3 separate regions of the Homo sapiens genome follow, and regions 2 and 3 are each linked to region 1. Evidence: promoter capture Hi-C in 16 types of primary human blood cells and fetal thymus (Javierre and others, 2016). All regions are on one chromosome and are shown on one strand. Each heading gives the region's core, a stretch centred on a gene start or on the middle of the fragment in contact. The rest is flanking DNA. Distances are from core to core; before and after follow the strand shown.

Region 1 (3,504 bases), core at 610-3,109:
CCCATAAAAGGCTTTTAAAAAAAAAAGACCAATTATTAGCCTACTGAAAGCCAATGGAACATTAGGCACGTCAATATTTTATTATAAAAAAATCTATAAATGCTATGGAGGCATTAAAATATTTAGAACAACCCTGTGGTGACACAGAAAATGTTGATGTGATAATGCCAATAACAATTTGAAAGTGTTATGTTCACTTTCTCAACTCTGATTACCTCCTCAATCCATGCATATTTCACTTCCTTTCTTCCAACTAGACTGTACTTAGCAAGGTCACCAGTGACCTTCACCTTGTCAGATCCAGCAACCACTTCTCTATCCTCGAATTTGCAGTATAGTTGGCCACCAGCTCTGCTTCCATGCCATAACTAGTCTGTTTCTACCTTACTGGCTCTCTTTCCCAGTCGCAAATGCCTCACACTTGAGGTATTTAGGTGTATTTAAGTCACGTCTGCAGCCCAGACTGCTACAGTGAGCTCTGTACAACAATATATCCAATTGTCTACTTAACATCACTCCTTGACTAAAATGTAAGCATCTCAGACCAAGTATTTCCAGTCTGGGCATGGTGGCTCACCCCTGTAATCCCAGCACTTTGGGAGGCCAAGCCAAGAGGACTGCTTGAGTCCAGAAGTTTGATACCAGCCTGGGCAATATAGCAAGATCCCATCTCTACAAATAATAATAATAATAATAATAATAATAATAATAATAATAAAAGAGCTGGGTGTGGTGGTGCATGCCTGTAGCCCTAGCTACTTGGGAGGCTGAGGTGGGAGGCTCACTTTAGCCCAGGAATTGAAGGCTGTGAATATTTTCAAATAATTAATTAATACTATTATTGCCTTTCTCGTTTGGCTCCCAGAACAGTACCTGGTCCACAGAGGACTCTCAAGAAATAGTTGCTGAATGAATGAATGAATGTAAAATGGGGTAAATAATTATATTTTTAAATTATTTTTTAAAATTGTACATATATGTATATATAACTGTACAATTTAACAACATGCTATGTGTAGACATTAAAGTGATGGGAAAAACACCAAACATTAACAGCGGTTGTGCATGAAATTAAAAGATTTTTCTTAAAACTCCTTCTCTATTTTTCAATTTTATTTACAGCGTAGTGGTTAAGAATACCAAAATTTAGAGTCTGAGTGAAGACTGCCAGTTACCAGCTGCACAACCTTGGTTTCCTCTTGTGTCAAATTGGCTTAAAAATATACACAGTACCGGCCAGGCGCGGTGGCTCACACCTGTAATCCCAGCACTTTGGAAAACCGAGGCGGGCGGATTGCCTGAGCTCAGGAGTTCGCGACCAGCCTGGGCAACAAGGTGAAACCCCGTCTCTACTAAAATACAAAAGAATTAGCCGGGCGTGGCGGCGGGTGCCTGTAGTCCCAGCTACTTTGGACGCTGAGGCAGGAGAACTGCTTGAACCCGGGAGGCGGAGATTGTAGTGAGCCGAGATCGCGCCACTGCCCTCCAGCCTGGGAGACAGAGTGAGACTCCGTCTCAAAAAAAAAAAAAAAAAAGTATATATCTATATATAGATATATAGATAGACGCAGTACCTCCTTTGTATTAACATCCCTAATAAGCTTTACTGTGAAATTATGGATGAAAGGATCTTTGCACGATGCAGGTACGTAGTGAGGGACAGTAATGTTAGTTGATAACGATTACAGGTATGTTTTATTTTATAATGAAAATACATTTGTCTTCTAAACCTTTACCGAAGGGAGTGAAAAGAACACCTCACCCAAACGCCCGCCCTTATGTGCGCAGCCCCGCCTCCTGTAGGCCCCACCCCACCAAAGGGTGCGCCTGCGCCGTTCTTTTTTCCGTCCACGTGACCCACTCAGGCTCCTCCTTGTCTCCAACATGGCGGCGCCCAGGGGCTCAAGCCGCACGTGAGAAAGTCTGGGCATCTGGGAATCGGAGAGTATAGCCTGTGAGCCGCTTTCCCCTCCTTACTGTCGGTTGCATCCCTTCGACACTCCCGAGGCCGTCGCGGGCCACTGGCCCTCTGCAGCCATGAAGACAAAGCCCGTTTCCCACAAGACCGAGAACACCTACCGGGTGAGCGCGGGAGCTTAGGCAGGGAGCCGCGGGTCTCCGCTGCCTCAGTCGTGAGACAGGCTCTGAGCGAGACTCCAGGGGCCTCAGACTTCTGGGCCGAGTGTGTCACTTTCCTGGAGGCTCCGGCGAAAGAGGGAGACACTGGATGTAGTAAACATGGGTTGGAGGAGGAAAGAAGTGTGGACAGCAAGTTTCACCCATGTTTTATGGGGTCTGGCCAGTCCTGGGAATTTCCTGTAGTCCAGAATTAAATTCACTATTCCAGGAGATTGCTTAGGACCAATTCTCCCCTGCTCTTTTATCTTTAAAGACCGAATTGGGCGAGTCGGCTGGCGGTGAGTGATTCCCAGCTAAGGGCAAATATACAGCGCTTTCTCTGTTTGCCCCTTGATAGATTGTTTCCAGGTCTTCCTTAGGATACAATCATAGGTCTGTATATGTTTAAAAACACTTTTATTGCAGCGACTTTGCTAGGTCCCCATGCTTATGGGAGGGTATGAAACCTAATAGATCTAGCGAGACTAATTGCCAGCATCCACCTAGGCTCACCAGTCTGGCAATGGAAATTTTATTTGAAATGACATAGCTGAGAGAAATTATGCAAACATAGAAGTATTCATTATCTTTGAACAGTGATGCAGTAAATTTGTTTACGGCCGTATGTTTTTCAGTTTATTTTTCCACTTATCCTTTGTGATTAGAGATGCCTACATGCAGCATTCAAATAGATATTAAAGATCTGATAAATTTTAATTAATTATGTATCTTAAATATACTTTCCCTTCCAGTTTCTTACATTTGCTGAACGACTGGGGAATGTTAATATTGATATTATTCACCGGATTGATAGAACTGCAAGCTATGAGGAGGTAAGAGAATGTGATACTAGTCAATCTTCAAGTGTTCATGGTGTTTTAGTTTCTTCTGTTAGTAGAAGTGAATTGTTTTTCAAGGTATTCCTTTTTGGACATGAAATGCTTTAGACCTGTGCTGTTTCATACAGTAGCCACATATGACAAATTGGATTTAAAGTAAATTAAAAATTTGGGTGCCCAAATGTGGCTAGTTGCTAACATATTGAATAAATATAGAATTGGAACATTTTCATCTTTGCAGAAAGTTCTGTTGGGTGAAGCTCTATTAGACAATTGACTTGACTTTCAGCTGTCTTTGTGATTCTAGCCTCTCCCTTTCCCTTATGCATTCCAAGCACTGCTGCAGATCCATATTCCTGAAGCTATAACTTTAAAGTGATTTTGAGGAAGCCCTTTTCCCGGGGCTTAATTTTCTCCTTTATAAAAATAAAGGGGCTAGACTACATAATATTTTCCAGTTTTAACCATACTCTGACTCTGTCATCCCTTTATTTTACTTTTATTTATTTATTCATTTTTTTGAGATGGAGTCTCGCTCCGTCTCCAG
Region 2 (3,504 bases), core at 1-2,500, 490 kb after region 1:
AAGGAAGGGAAGGCAATGAAGAGCTAGAGAAAGGAAGAAATGGAGGTAGAAGGGTAAAGGGAATGAAATTATGGAAATCCCTGTACCACACTAAAAGAGCAGAATTAGAAATCACAGTCTTGTAATTTTTAGAAAGTCCTGTACCTGGTGTGTTACTATTGTCACTCGAGGATTGTCAAGGTTCAGCCAGGATGGAATCTGCCCGTTGGTGACAATGAAAATATTCCGAACCCATGGTGCATGCCTCTCGATAGATCGCAATGAGTACCTCAGTTCTTCGTTATCTTCAAAACGACTGGCAGAGATGTCTTCATCCTGCTTAGACTGAGAAAAACACTTGGCATATGAAGATGTGAAATACCCCTTAAGTCATACCTCCTCCTCTTTGTCCTTTCCTTCTGCCCGTCTGCTCTCAAGGTGCTCTGGCAGACTTTTAAAGATGGAGTCCTAATTTTAAACATTACAAAAAATGCAAAAGATTCAGTATATATATTTTTAAACCCAAAATTCAAAGAGACAGCATTTCTATAACACACTTTATGAAGAAGGTTCTTGGATCTGATTCTAGGTGACTTCAGTTAATACCAAACCAATGGCAGTGACTGAAAAATTAGAAAAATTCCAATCAACTCACCTCTCTGTAAGTCCCCTTCCCTCTTCTAATATAGTAACTTACACATTTTTAACATCTTAACCTTTGATTTGGGCTGTAAAAGCTTCTGTGCATCCCTTACCTGGCTGATGGCGCTCAGATCCCATAATAAATATGCAGGACTTATGGTCAGTTCTTTTCCATCAATGGTCATGTTCTTCTTAGTTTGCTTATTCAATTCTTGAAAATCCTTGGGGTTATTCAGTTTTAGAAGCGCTACACTGGCCTCTGAATACAACTGCAACTATCAAATAACAAGAGGATTACACATGAAAAGACTGAATCTCAAGGATGAAGCACCTTTAAATTCCCACTCTGCTCTTTAATCTTTCCTTTTTTTTTTTTTTTTGAGACACAGTCTCGCTCTGTCGCCAGGCTGGAGCGCAGTGGCACGATCTCTGCTCACCTCAACCTCCGCCTCCCGGGTTCAAGCGATTCTCCTGCCTCAGCCTCCTGAGTAGCTGGGACTACAGGACTGCATCATCACGCCCGGCAAACTTTTGTACTTTTAGTAGAGACAGGGTTTCACCATGTTGGCCACGCTGGTCTCCAACTCCTGACCTCAGGTGATCCACCTGCCTTGGCCTCCCAAAGTGCTGGGATTACAGGCGTGAGCCACTGCAACTGGCCTGATCTTTAATCTTGAAATGGTAAGACAATATCAAAACACAACAAAAAGACCTACACAGACCAGATGCATTTCCCAAATGAATGTTAAAAAAATAGGCGTCTAAAAACAAGAAGGAATGGTAAAGGCAGTGGCAAACTGGACACCTCAGAGCCATCTGAGAGCTGCAACCACTCAATGGCACCAAGTGCTGCCAGATCTCCTGAGAGGCAAGAATCCCCAACTGTTGTATGAAATCTCCCCAATTTTTCAATGTTGGCTCAAATGATTTTTGACTTCTTTGCAAGTACACCTGCTGGCCAACAGTTCTGTGACTTTTCTTCTAGAATATTACCAATCTGCTTATATTGGGCAAAAAATCTGCAATGTAATTAACCTTGCTGGAATTGGTGACAAGTACATCTGCTAGTGGGGTGTCTGAACAGCTTTTGTGCCACGTGCCTGGGAGGAGCACCTTCGGCAGGACTGCCTGAAGTGCTTCCATGGGAAAACTACCTTTTGGGGCAAAGCTTTTGGGGCAATCATAAATCTAAGCGTGAACATCACAAACATCAAGTTCCACAAACAGGCTTTGCCACCCCTACGAAAGTCCACACCACTCTTTATCTGTTTTCTGTTCTGACTCTGTATCACACAACTTCCTATGAAGAGGCTTTCATCACTCAGGAAAAGGGGAGAGGCCTGAAAACCACAAATGTAGGACAGTAAAATCCTTCTGCTGAACTAGTGCTTCTAAAAGAGCTTACGGTCTTCTTTCTCAATCTATAAAACAAAGCAAACACAAATTTTATTATGAGCTTATTCTGAGCTCTTCTATTTGCTGCATGACTATTCTTAGCTCATTTTCTAAGCAGTTTCCTGAGCGTATGTAGTCCAGAACACCAGAGGTGAGAGTTAGAAATTTCATTTATATCTTTTCCCCTTATGATGTAGGCCATTAACTCTTCTCACAGATTAGGTGCAGGTGCATGTGTGAGCACCTGCAGATGCATGTAACTGTCTTCCTGACTCACCACTTTCACCTCTTTTACTTAGTGAGTGCCTGGCACATATTTAGTACTCACTAAGTTGGTTCTCACTGAGTCACCAACTTGCCTCAGCATATGTGCCGGGTGCTGGGAGGCAGGCCACACAGGGGGATTAGTAGTCTGCCTGGGTCCCTGTCTACCCTCTGGCCTTTCCTGTCCCTTTCCTCCCTCTCACAGCACCCCCAAAGCATTTCTGAGGGCTCCCTGGAGAGAAAAAGTCACTATTCTAGAACAATTTATTTACTTATTTTTATTTCTATTTTTTGAGACGGAGTCTGACTCTGTCGTGCAGGCTGGAGTGCAGTGATGTGATCTCGGCTCACTGCAACCTCCATCTCCCGGGTTCAAGTGATTCTCCTGCCTCAGACTCCCGAGTAGCTGGGATTACAGGCAAGCACCACCATGCCCAGCTAATATTTTTTGTATTTTTAGTAGAGGCAGGATTTCATCACATTGGCCAGGCTGGTCTCCTGACATACAATCTGCCCGCCTCGGCCTCCCAAAGTGCTGGGATTACAGGCGTAAGCCACCAGGCCTGACCTCCATCTCCCATTTCTTGAGGGGAATCAGTGTCTGGTTCAATCACAGCTTCGTTATCAATTTCTAGATCACTTTCCTCACTTGATAGTTCGTCTGTGCTTATGTTTTCCTCCACCTTCTTACTACCTGTTTTTAATTCCTTGATATTTTCTTCTGATTTATAATAGCTTTCTGAGTAGCACATGGTACTTCACCCCCCATGCTCTCCACCTGCTCCCTCAGAAAGCACATTTCCTTGGTATGCAGAATGCTCGGATCCTGCTTATACATTTTCACGAAGTCCCGAAGCTCGTTCACTTTGCGAAGGTCCAGGGTCGGAAGGCAGTGGGCGAAGCTGAGGGGCTGCAGGCCAGTTTCAGGCCCAGGCACTGGCTTGGCGTAACCTCGAAGAAGGGGTGTGTCTAGTTTAATTTCATAACTTGTGTTGGCTCTTTGTTTGATAAGAAGGTATATCACTAAAACTATTCTTTTTAGTGCCTAGGGTTGGTTTCTAATTATATATGCATAAAAGAGCAAGAAGAGGTTTGTCTATAGTAACTATACAATAATTCGGAAAGAGATGAAGATTAATGAGGTTAAGGTAATATTTATATGTATGAGAAAGATTTTCTGCCACTGTAAAAAGGGTGGGGAAGTACCCTCTGACAGCCACTAGG
Region 3 (3,504 bases), core at 446-2,945, 450 kb before region 1:
TCAGTAAAAAGGAAAATCTGGAATTTAAACTTTTTCAACATCCAAAATGGCACCACACTGCCTCATGTCATATAATTAACTAGACACAAATGTCTAAGGAGCAGAACAGACATTTTGTGATAGATAAGACATAACTGATTCTGTAGTAAGAAGAACTAGGAAGATGTCCAGGCCTCACATATGACGGCCCCTTCTGGACCAAGTTAGACCTTGAGTTAGTCTTCAGTAACTAGCATCCCAGCTTGGTGTGAAAATTTGGAACACTTAATTATGGACATTAACATATTTACACATAATTAACACTAATACCATTTTGATAAATGATTAAAAATATTCCTGCATATATCTTCAGCTTTTACAAAGGGAATTATGTGATTTTGGGTTTTCAATTATGTGCAACCTATTGACTGGACATTTTCTGATGTTTCCATGGAGGATTTAAGTGTTATTATGTATAATATGTTAGCTATTAATTTTTAAATAACAAGTTTAAATTGCACAAAATTACTTTATTATAGAAGCTGTTGCCAAAATCAACTGGCTTGGGAATGCACATCACTGAGGAATTTGAACCAATCAAATCATTAGCCAGAGAAATGTAATTATTTATAACTCAGCCAAGCTCTTATTATGGGCAAGTTAGTTGCACTTTTCTCCGCTCTTTTGTGGTTGATGTGGTATTTTATAATGAACGTAGATTAGTGGGAAAGGAGCAATATTTATAAGCAAAAGACAGTGTAACAGAGTGAAAAATTGAAATATGAAAAATTATGAAAGACGGAAACATTCAGAAAGCAGATTTTCTGAAATTGTGTTTAAAGACAGATAAATAAATATGTTTGAAGATGGAATTGAGAAAAAAAGATGGAAAATGGTCATTGCTCACAGAAAAAGATTCACTAAGCTTATTCTTTTGATGTGATATAATAGTGATTTGATGGATGCAGCTAACAAAATGTCTACAAAAAGCCCAGTGGTATCCATTAATATTGATGCATTGAGTTTCACTAACCGTATTCATGGATGTATTATTTCTAGCACCTTCTGTGTTTTTCTTTTTGTATTTGGTCCATACCAGCGTGTTGGGTGCTGTCCATGGTACTGGACCAGCGTTGCTTGCTAGGGCCTGCTGTTTGGGAGATTCTAGGGATGGTTTCCTCCTCCCAACCGCAATGGCCCTGTTCCTTTATCTTACACTGTGCTTGAATTGTAAATACAACTTGTGAATTTATTAGTAACATTTCTAGTTATTGTAGTTTCTAAGTATGAGATCTCAGTGGAGATCTCCAAACTTAACCTGGCTAAAACTGAGCTTTTATTTTTCTCCAAACCAGTTCCTCCTGCAGTCTCTTCCATCTCCGTCAATGGCAACTACATCCTTTGTTACTGAGGCTGAAATCTTCTTATAATCCTTGACTCCACTCTTTTTTTCACATCCCACATCTGTCAGGTCTGCCTTTAAAATATATTCAGAATCCGACCAGTTTTCACCACCTCACTGTGGCCATCCTTGTGTGAGCCCCCATCATCTCTCCCTGTAATGGACTTCTAACTGGCCGTCCTACTTATGTCCTTCTACTTCCCCAGGCCAACTTTTAAAGCCTGTTCTCTATATAGTAACCAGAGTAGTCTTGTAAAACATGTCAGGTCCTATTACTCCCTTGCTGAAAATCCTCTGATGGCTTTCTGCTTTAGTCAGATAGTAAAAGACAAAGTCCTTATAATGGCTCTTACATCATCTGGCCTTCTTGACTCTTCCTCATGTACCCTATTTCAGCCACACAGGCCCTTTTGATGATCCTTGAACACACCCAATTATGTTTTTGCTTTAAGACCTTTGTACTCGCGATTCCCTGTGCCAATACAGATCTTCCATCATTATATGCATAGCTAATGTCCTTACTTTCTTCAGGTTTTTATTTAAAAATATCTTTTTCATTGATATTTTTCCTGGTCTTTCTATTTAAACTTGTTAAAAAGAAAGAAATACCCCCCCATAACAGCTTATATTTTAAATTAAATGTATCTTTGTTGTTTTTTTATCCCTCTAAGATGTTGGCTCAATGAAAGTAGGAATTTTTTCTGTTTTGTCTACTGCTATGCCTAGAATAATGCCTGCATAGTAGGAGCTCAATAAATATCTGTCAGCTGACTAAATGAATGGAATTATGTTAACAGATGAATGATTTTAGCGGAAATAAATGTCAATATTTGATGATATAAATATATATATTAGATTATAATCATTTATCAGATTATTATTTTAGATAATAAAAGCATTTTTAGCATTGCTTGATTTATGGTTAGGATTCTGTATTTGGAGGTGCTAAAATGGGTAAGAAGTCCAGCCATTGCAGATGCAGAGGCCTTTAGCTGAAGCTCTAGAGCTGTTGGGGTCCCCAGGAAAAAGCTCACATGAGATCTCCTGATGCTACGCTTCTGGCCTTCATTATTCACCCCCATTTCTAACATATATATGTTGGGGGGAAGCTTAAGGTTTTCAGTGGTGTGGGGCTACGACGGGTGTCCCTTCACACCATTTCAAATGGATAGGGGTAAGTTATATCTAGAGTCTTAGTTCCAGAAACAAGGTTGTGATACATACTCCTGTTAAAAAATTTTTTTTTGATTAATGTGCACCAGCCACTAGGGGATGCTAGACACTCATATTCAGAGTAGGGTCCACTGTCTCATTGGGCTTGGCAAGAAGTCTGGTCTACCTACCTTCAGACCATTTCATTATTTGTATTCTTTTTAGCCTTTTGTGTAAAACTAACATTTATTTAATATTTCCTCCATTCCTCCTTTTTTCAGCACATTCCCCAATTGGAGAGGGGTATTTTGGATGCATCTGGGTTCTTGCTTTTAGGAACTGTGTTTAATCATGGAAACCTCATTCCTATTTTCCAAGTGGCAGTGACTCATGCGGGGAGAGTCAAGGCCCTGGGTCTCTGCTAGTGCTTTCCCCATCCTTTAGCATTTCTTCACTTTGCTAAAAAGCGTAAAAGTCTTTTCAGTGATTCTGTCTGTGGGTGTTGGAAAAAGATTTTAAGAAAAATGATTTTCAAAATGACTAGTATTTACACGTATGAGTCCCTATCTTTTCAAGTTTTTAGTTTCATGCCACTTTAGGAAAATAATAGCCCATGCGGTGCCACCTTATTCTTTATATCTTTTACACGTGATTGATTGTAAAGGCGATGAGGATACCAGTATCCATTGCCAGGAGGTAAGCAGGAATCAGATAAAAGCAAAGGGTGGAAGGTGGAGATAGAAATACATATATGAATAACATTCTTCTTCTCTCCAACTTCATATAGCTTATCAAATCCTTAATTTAGCTTTGGGAGGCTGGTGGATCACTTGAGGTCAGGAGTTTGAGACCAGCCTGGCCAACATGGTAAAACCCCATCTCTACTAAAAATACAAAAAATTTAGCTGGGCATGGTGGCATGTGCCTGTAATTCCAGCTACTTGGGAAGCTGAGGCATGAGAATCACTTAA

What was found. Contacts are between HindIII fragments. The CHiCAGO score rates a contact against its expected background, and 5 or more counts as called.
Region 2: a contact is called between a fragment that was not itself captured here and the fragment with the promoter of UTP20 in region 1, in 3 of 17 cell types (fetal thymus, naive CD4 T cells and total CD8 T cells). The highest score is 7.4, in fetal thymus.
Region 3: a contact is called between a fragment that was not itself captured here and the fragment with the promoter of UTP20 in region 1, in 3 of 17 cell types (endothelial precursors, M1 macrophages and M2 macrophages). The highest score is 7.9, in endothelial precursors.

Annotation. Positions count from the first base shown.
Region 1 is chr12:101,278,246-101,281,749 of GRCh38, forward strand. UTP20 (UTP20 small subunit processome component) reads left to right here and starts at 1,860. Exons shown (of 62, transcript NM_014503.3): 1 at 1,860-2,082; 2 at 2,871-2,951. The coding sequence starts at 2,038. RefSeq lists enhancers at 1,559-2,150, 1,884-1,933. The HindIII fragment of the contact is 7,469 bases long and covers 1,600-3,504 here.
Region 2 is chr12:101,770,262-101,773,765 of GRCh38, forward strand. It overlaps GNPTAB (N-acetylglucosamine-1-phosphate transferase subunits alpha and beta), which reads right to left. Exons shown (of 21, transcript NM_024312.5): 8 at 735-896; 9 at 145-324. It also overlaps the pseudogene ST13P22. Among named protein-coding and RNA genes, the nearest start is that of SYCP3, 33 kb to the left of the region's middle. The HindIII fragment of the contact is 1,073 bases long and covers 715-1,787 here.
Region 3 is chr12:100,825,437-100,828,940 of GRCh38, forward strand. All of the region lies in intron 1 of ANO4 (anoctamin 4), which reads left to right. Among named protein-coding and RNA genes, the nearest start is that of ANO4, 32 kb to the left of the region's middle. The HindIII fragment of the contact is 1,586 bases long and covers 903-2,488 here.